Linked DNA regions of Homo sapiens: region 1 is linked to region 2. Evidence: promoter capture Hi-C in 16 types of primary human blood cells and fetal thymus (Javierre and others, 2016). All regions are on one chromosome and are shown on one strand. The core of a region is centred on a gene start or on the middle of the fragment in contact, and the rest is flanking DNA. Distances in the headings are between cores, read along the strand shown.

Region 1 (4,078 bases), core at 1,411-3,910, 470 kb before region 2:
CTCAAACTGACCACCCAACCTCCAGCTCAATCCTTCCCTCCTCTGCCCCAGCAGCCATGCTGGAGTCCTGCTCTGCATAGCTGTCTGTTTTCTCTGGGTTACTTTGCTTCAGTGCCCTGCACCTGCAGTGGCAGATGGGTCCTAGGAGCTTCCTGAGGACAGGTGCCCAGTCTCTAGGGCCCAGGGTGATCTACACACAGTGGATGCTTGCTTGGTACAAGAAGTGCCCTAGGCTGACTAATCTAGGGACGCAGAACAAACCACTATAACTGAATCAATGCAGTACTTCCTGGAACAGAAGCTAAGCTGAAAACAATGGCTGTAACCTCACAAGAAGCTCCACCCTTCCTTCTGCTCTAAGTGAAAATCTAGGTTGAGGAGGCAAAAACCTGCCTCTTCTCCCTCATTTCAAACCCACATCCCATCAATTCTGTCGTGTGAACATGGTGGGCATAGCCCCACCCAGAGCTGGACCTAGGACCTGCCTGGTGAGCGATCTTGCCCTCCACTTTCTGGTGCCAAGTAGGAGAAAGGGCTTTCCACTTCATGTGGCTCTGTAAACATGGTGTGTTACACTGCAGTCTCACTTGCTTTCTCTCATTTCTAACATGCCTGGAGGTACACACTTCTTTGAATTTGAATATACAGCACCCTTGGTCTAGAATGTCTCCATAGCAAACCCATACTTCTGTGAAAGTGAACCCACCAGTCACCTCTCTAGGCAGTTTTTGGCACACTCCTAACTCCTACAGTTTGTGCACGTTCTCCATCTATTATAGAAAAGAGCACATTGCACTGTATTTGTATATTGCTGTGACTGTCATCCATAATAAACTCTACAACTCCTTTCAGATGATAATCTTTTCTGTTATCCTGTATCTCCAGCACCAAGTGCCATATCTGGCCATGGGGTAGGAGTGGGAAAGGAGAACCAGAGTCCGAGGGCCTCTGTGCAGTCAGAGGTCAATCAGAGGGCACAAAAAACCAAGGACCAACAGACTTTGTCCTTTCCAGTTTGTGCCTCTTGTCAGTGAACAAAGGTGAGGTCACTTAGGTGGTGGTAACCATAGCTGTGAAGGCATGAACTTGGAATCATTCCTCATGAATATAAAGGTACCCAATCCTTTCATTTAAAAATTAAGTGTTCTTAACTGGCCCACACAGGAAACATCACAGGAAATAATGTTTCAGTTCAGTCTTTGCTCCCATTCAACCACAATTTCAAAATAGTACAGATTCTCCTCAAGATTGAGAAAGCAAAACCTCTTTGTTTGTCCAGCAGCTGGGAGTTTGCTTTTTCTCAGCTTTCTTCCAAAGCACACGCATAGTATGATATCTCTTATCTCCCATGGGAGTTCCTTAAGAGTAGGACTGTTTGCTAGACAAATATTCTCCTTCTACCTTTTCATCTCCCTCCCCCACAATTCCCAAAGCACAGTGCCTGGCCTCAGGAGGCACCTACCACTTGATTATTAAGTGAATTTATTTAAAAGACTGCTTTTTATTTTTTAATACAAGGCTCAATAAACTCTGAGGTGTTTTGGGAATCCAGAGCCCTCTCCCCGTCCCCACCCCTCTTGGAAATCTAGAGCCCTCTGCCCTGTTCCCAATCCTCATACTTAGATGGGTGGGTGTAATCAAAGAGAACTTTCTCCTTTCTGCTCCAGGGCATAATCAAGTGAAATTCTCACAGGTCTTGGAAGAAGAAAGCTCTTACATAGAGTTTCCGATGGTGGTCACAGAGAGTCAGGACCGAAGCTCTGCTAACACTTTGCTGAGTCCATGCAACCTCAGTCATTAGTTACAGCACATGATTGGAAATTACTGCAGTATCAAGTTTTGGGGATTGCATTTTATACGTGCATTTCATGTGACATTTATCAGTGGTCATGTTTTGTACACCAAGGATAATTTGGGGAAATGCTGAGGATCCCAATGTGCTTCCTGCTCCTTAAAAGCCAACAATCTATGCATCCTTTAGAGATGTCTAGCTTTCACCTTTTAAAATACAGTTACTGAGCACATCCTGGTGTTTTGATTTTTAGCCACCTTTCTATTTAGTGGCTTTGAAGAACCACAGTGGGAGTCACTAAATTTACTTTTGAAATTTTCTCAAATGAAAAAGAACTGTGTCTTCTAGCTGTCTTTCTAAAGACAGCTCTGGCTGTGGGTTCTTTCCTCACTTTAAAATCACAAGACCAATTTTCTGAAGACCAGAGCACATAGGAAATCTCCCCAATGTCATCTCGCATAGAAAGCTCCAGGCATCAGGAATTACTACACAGAGTAATTCAAGCTCTGAAGCAATTAAGGCATGTGAATGCCTCGACTCAGAGATTTAGATAATGGGAACCTGATTAAGTAAAAGTATTTCTGGCCTGATTGCCTTTGGGGATGTTACTAGGATCTTGCTAATCTGTTTTACTTTGTGCACTAAATATTTGTGAAAGAGAAGTTGCCGGAGATTTTATGGTTACTAGAGAGGTATATGGAGACCCCTAAGAATACGCCCTACCCCACATTAGACAGCAAGCCAAGTTAAAACGTCATCAACCTTACCTTTTCCAGGCACCGTTCCTCAGTCCTTTCGGCAGAATTTAGTGATTATCCTTGAGGTGGCCGAGACAAGGCTGGTAACACAGATATCCGGGGCTATTTGTGTAAAAGGAGAAGTGAAGGGTGAAAAAATATGATCATGCTGTGACGACAGGAAGCCCAGATGAGAAGAAGGAGGAAGTGAGGCTGAGTCCGCCCTCTTTAGTCTCAGAGATTTAGTACTTTCCCAGTGGCTTTTTAGAAGCTTCCTCTCACAGCCCACCCTAAACTAGTTTTGTGAAACAAAAGAAAACTTCAAAACCAAGTTGGTTCAGGCACAGATCTGTGAGCAGTGGTGGATTCTAGGGTAATTTGGCAATGATTTTTGCTTAGAAAAGGACAGTGCTTCTCAATCAAGGTGGCATCTCAGAATTAACTGTGTATTTGTTCAAAAAGAAGTATGCCTGGCCCCACCACCAGTTTCCCATTCAGGTAGACAGACTGGAGGGGAACACAGGAACCAATATTTCTAAACATTTTCTAGGCCCGAGACTTTGGAATGTCTTTCTGAAGATTCTCTGCCCCCTCCTCATACTCCCTCTGTCTGGCTTCAGCCAGTCTCTAGACTTGAATTGGACACCATTTGCAGACTTCTCTGTCTCGAGAGCAAGACTGTCTTAAGGTGAGTCCCCAAGGCATAATCCCAGGGGCACTGGTAGAAATGATTTGGTTAGTACAGGAAACACCACATTTGGAGCCAAAGATCTGAGTTTCAGTTCCAGCTTTATCTCTTTTAGCTGTGAGATCTTGAGCAAGTCTCAATCTGTCAGCCTCAGTTTATTAATGGTAACACCTAATAATAATCCTACTGGTTACTGTTACATCCTTATTTATATACAAGAAAACAGGCGCTCAAAGAGGTTAGAAAATTTGCCCAAGCTCATACAACTAAGACATGTCAGAGGTAGGATTAAAATTCAAGGTCACAGAGAAGGCCTTTTGAGAAACACTGTGATCAATATATTTTGAAAAATGTGTTTCTGGTTTCACTATGCTGCATCACTGGAATTTTCTTAGATTGGGTCAAAGGAGTATGTGACAACCCAAATGTATCACTAGCTAACTATGAAACTTGGAAGCAATCACTGGGCCCCAATGTTTTCATCTTATAAATGAACAGATAGATGCACTCTGCGGTGCTGACTTGCGGGCATGCCTCTGGGAAAGCTAGCTGTCTCCCGCTTCCTTCACCCTGAGACATTCAGATCCAGAGTAATCTCCAGCCAGGGCTGTCTTGTGGGGAAAACTGAATTAAATGAAGGTAAAAAGGTCTTTACTGCAGAACTTGTCAGTCCTTAATATTCTCTAAGCAGGGGAAATAATATATAGATTTCTCCAAACTTATCTGAGCATGGAACTGTGTGGTGTGTGTGTGTGTGTGTGTGTGTGTGTGTGTGTAGTTTCTCTTGGGGAACAATTTTTCAGTGTAACTACACTTTAGGGAATGCTATTAAAAAGTCTCTGCACCTCGGCTGGAATCACT
Region 2 (4,593 bases), core at 373-2,872:
CCTTTAACCCAGTCATTCCATTTCTAGTAACTTATAAGGAAATTTTAAAACTGCACAGATATTTAGCTATGAGGATATTCAACCAGCATTGTAATAGCTAAAACAAAAAACAAACAAAAGCAAAAAAAAAAAAAAAAGTCCAAGTACAGTGGCTCACCTGCAATCTCAGCGCTTTGGGAAGCCAACGAGGGAGGGTCACTTGAGACTGGGCTACACACTGAGACTCCATCTCTACAATTTTTTTTTTAATTAGCTAGGTGGGGTGGCGGGTCCCTGTAGTCCCAGCTTCTTGGGAGGCTGAGGTGGGAAGATCGCTTGAACCTAGAAGGCTGAGGCTGGACTAAGCCATGATAGTGCCACTGCACTCCAACCTTAATCCACAATTAAGATACAGCTATAAAATGGAATATTTTGCAACTACTACAAAGGATGTAAGTGAAAACTTGACATGGAAAGACATTTATTCTAAACTCTGTAAAGAAGGCCAGCTACAGAATTGTACCTCCAGTATGTATGTCAATTTTGCTTACAAAACAAACAAAACAAAAAAAACCATGCTAGGCGTGGTGACTCAGCCTGTAATCACATTTTGGGAGGCTGGAGTGGGAGGATCTGTTGAAGCAAGGAGTTTAAGACCAGCCTGGACAACACAGCGAGACCCCCATCTCTACAAAAAAACGTAAAAATTAGCCAGACATGATGGCTCGAGGCTGTGGTCCTAGCCAGTCGAGAGGCTGAGAGGTGAGGATAGCTTGAACCCAGGACGTCCGGGTTGCAATGAGCTATAATCGTTCTACTGCACTACAGCCTGGGTAACAGAGCAAGACCCTGTCCCCCAAAAAATTTATTTTAAAAAGGCAAACGAAAAAACATTAAAAGTATACATTTACAAAGACAACTATCTGAAAGGATATTCTCCAAGAAGTTAAAAGTCGTCTTTGGACAGTGGGGCCATAGATGTTTTCCTATTTTTACCAGCTTTATAATTAATTTTTAAAAGTTATTTTCAAGTAGTCCTACCCAGTCTTCCTTACGAGTTAGGACTCAAATGCCACTCTCTTCCCCTAAACTGTCCTGAGTCCCCTCACCATAATAAGCACCAATGTCTTCGTTAAAATCCCGACACTGCCAACACTCAGCTAGGGGGTTGAACCTTGCTCCATCTCGTCCTTTAGTCTCTGTGTGCGTCTTTCCCCCTACAAGCCTACTGACCCCCTCCAAGAGGTCCCGTGTCTTCCCCGTACTTGCCCCACAGGCTAGATCAGACCCTGTCTGACCCCTGGGTTATTGTAAAACTTAAGATCTGTCCCCTAGGTCTCGGAGTCGGTTGAACTAGGGTCCAAAGGTTAAAAAACACTGACACAAAATGCCAGGCCACGAACTGAAGCACTGAGGCCCGGCTGCAGACCTCTCCCGAGAGGGGAATAATCCGTGCCGGCCGGTTCCGCCATGGAGCCAGGTGCAGGTCACCTCGACGGTCACCGCGCGGGGAGCCCAAGCCTTCGTCAGGCTCTGTGCGACGGAAGCGCAGTGATGTTTTCCAGTAAAGAACGCGGACGTTGCACCGTGATCAATTTTGTCCCTTTGGAGGCGCCGTTACGGTCCACGCCCCGCTCGCGTCAAGTGACTGAGGCCTGTGGTGGAGAAGGACGTGCCGTGCCGCTGGGTTCTGAGCCGGAGTGGTCGGTGGGTGGGATGGAGGCGACCTTGGAGCAGCACTTGGAAGACACGTGAGTAGTGCGCGCCTCTTCGGCCTGTCCTGAGGTCGCGGCGGAGGAACTTGAGCGGAACGAAAGGCGCGAGCTGCGAGTACCGGCCAGGGCGTCTCGGGGACGTCGCGCGACCCCCGGGACACGGGATGAGGGGGCTAAACTCTACCCAAGGCCGCAGGGCGGGGCGGGTGACCCGGAATTAAAATCCTGCCGGGCACCGCACATTCCCTCTTGAGCGAGTCTCCCGGGCCCAGGCCACGGGCCAAAACTGCCTATCTCGTTGTTGAAATCGTCTTTACGGTCAGGGTGGTTCTGCGGAAGTTTTAGAAAACGGGTTGACTTTTGGGAAGATTGTGCCAGTTGTGCAGTGTCGAGCCCTGCAGTGTAAACAAACACGTATCTCCTGTGTGTAACCTATCAGTTACTTGGTGCTTAAGTAGATAAAAATCATTCTTTAAATTTTTCGAACAAGCAGTATCTATGTAAAATTCAAAACTGGAAAAGTGTAAAGGGTACAGAGAGACACCTGCCTCCCACCGATGTCCCTCAGCTTCCACTTACCCTCCAGGAGGTAACTTGAGTTTTTCAACAGTTGTTTTAAATGAGTTAGTACTAAAACATGCGTTTTTAACAAGAGTGAAAACATCCTAGATGTTTTTCACGCAGTGTTTGTGGCCCTCCAGAACTCAGCAGTACTTAGCACATTTTTTTCTCTCATCAGAGAGAAACTGGTTTATTTCAATTAATTAACTAGAACTTAAATTTTTTGTGTTCTTTTTTTGAGACGGAATTTCGCTCGTCTTCCAGGCTGGAGTGCAATGGCGTGATCTCGGCTCACTGCAACCTCCGCCTCCCAGGTTCAAGCGATTCTCTTGCCTCAGCCTCCCGAGTAGCTGGGATTACAGTCATGCGCCACCACGCCTGGCTAATTTTGTATTTTTAGTAGAGACGGGGTTTCTCCATGTTGGTCAGGCTGGTCTTGAACTCCCGACCTCAGGTGATCCGCCCACCTGGGCCTCCCAAAGTGCTGGGATTACAGGCGTGAGCAACCGCGCCCGGCCCTAGAACTTAATTTTTTTCTTAGGGTGTGACAATGAAAAAAGATTGAGAAATATTGATTTAAAGCACTTAATGCCTGGTACATAGAACACCTGTATGTTTGTACTTATTTAAATCCTTTTTCTCCCATTATGTACTTCAACTCTCTTGTGTTCCTGGAATTAGAATGAAGAATCCCTCCATTGTTGGAGTCCTGTGCACAGATTCACAAGGACTTAATCTGGGTTGTAAGTATCTCTCATACCAACTATTTGATGAATTGCATAGCATCTGATGTTGACTTGGAGCCTAGCGTGCTATTATTTTCTAGCTTTTATTTCCTGTTACCTTGCCAGGTCTTTCTGAGTTTGAGAGTAGAGATTATCTCCAAATAACAGTATCAGAAAATTGAAACTTTTCAGTTGGTATTTATGAAGGAAGATGTTCCTTGCAGTCCTATAACAATAAATAGTTGTCTCTACTAAAAATAATATTTGAATCATTTTAAATTGAGTCTAGAAAGGACTTCAGATAATAACAGCTGTTAACCATTTATTGAATGTATGCCATATGCTGAGACTGCTAGGCTCTAAATACATTATCTTTAATTTTCACAACAACCCGGCAAGGTGGGTGGTGTACAATTTTGAAGCTCAACTACACTAAACAAGAAGTGAATAGGCAGTAAAATGGGATTTCAGTGTTGGACATACCTGGTCTCAATCCCTTGCTCTTTCATTTGTTAGTAGTGTGAACGTGGACCAAAAAACTACCTTTTAGGCCCTCATTTTCTTCACTGGGTTGTTATTTGATAATGGTAATAATCATAGAATTATATTTATTGAGCTGTTATGTGCCAAGCACCATTGTAAGTGCTTTACATATACTCTTTTATTCCTCATAACAACCCAGTGAGGTAGAAAAAGAAATTGAGGGACCAGGTGCAGTGTCTCACGCCTGTAATCCCAGCACTTTGGGAGACCAAGGTGGGCAGATCACTTGAGCCCAGGAGTTCAAGACCAGCCTGTGCAACACAGTGAGACCCCCCATCTCTATTTTTACAATAAACATATATATATGTTTTTAAAATTTAAAAAAAGAGGCCGGATGCGGTGGCTCACACCTGTGATCCCAGCACTTTGGGAGGCGGAGGCGGGTGGATCACCTGAGGTCAGGAGTTCGAGACTAGCCTGGCCAACATGGTGAAACCACATCTCTACTAAAAATGCAAAAAAAAATTAGCCAGGCATGGTAGCAGGTGCTAGTAATCCCAGCTACTCGGGAGGCTGAGGCAGGAGAATCGCTTGAACCTGGGAGGCAGAGGTTGCAGTAAGCCGAGATTGCACCATTGCACTCCAGCCTGGATGACAAGAGCGAGACTCTGTCTCAAAAAATAAAAAAAGAAACTGAGACACAGAGGTTAAATAACTTGCCTGAGGTCATGCAGCTAGTAAGTCGTTAAGCTAGGATTTTTGTCTGGCCCTGAGGCCTCTTAATCACTTTTTTTTTTTTTTTTTTGAGACGAAATCTTGCTCTGTCGCCCAGGCTAGAGTGCAGTGGCACGATCTTGGCTCACTGCAACCTCCATTTCCCAGGTTCAGGCAATTCTCCTGCCTCAGCCTCCTGAGTAGCTGGGATTACAGGCGCCTGCCACCACGCCCAGATAATTTTTGTATTTTTAGTAGATACAGGGTTTCACTATGTTGGCCAGGCTGGTCTCGAACTCCTTATCTCAGGTGATCCACCCACCTCCGCCTCCCAAAGTGCGGGATTACAGGAATGAGCCACTACACCCGGCCTAATCACGATATTTTAAGGTTATATAATATGTATAAAATGCTTA

The links. Contacts are between HindIII fragments. The CHiCAGO score rates a contact against its expected background, and 5 or more counts as called.
Region 1: a contact is called between the fragment with the promoter of CD53 here and the fragment with the promoter of LAMTOR5 in region 2, in 10 of 17 cell types (monocytes, M1 macrophages, total B cells and 7 more). The highest score is 10.7, in monocytes.

The regions. Positions count from the first base shown.
Region 1 is chr1:110,871,730-110,875,807 of GRCh38, reverse strand. CD53 (CD53 molecule) reads right to left here and starts at 2,660. Exons shown (of 8, transcript NM_000560.4): 1 at 2,560-2,660. It also overlaps a transcript of LRIF1 not described here. RefSeq lists enhancers at 1,138-1,187, 2,700-2,809, 3,410-3,459. The HindIII fragment of the contact is 4,495 bases long and covers 1-2,802 here.
Region 2 is chr1:110,404,723-110,409,315 of GRCh38, reverse strand. LAMTOR5 (late endosomal/lysosomal adaptor, MAPK and MTOR activator 5) reads left to right here and starts at 1,622. Exons shown (of 4, transcript NM_001382293.1): 1 at 1,622-1,730; 2 at 2,937-2,998. The coding sequence starts at 1,696. It overlaps LAMTOR5-AS1 (LAMTOR5 and SLC16A4 antisense RNA 1), which reads right to left and starts at 1,507. Exons shown (of 3, transcript NR_102697.1): 1 at 1,362-1,507. RefSeq lists an enhancer at 1,451-1,680. The HindIII fragment of the contact is 8,453 bases long and covers 1-4,593 here.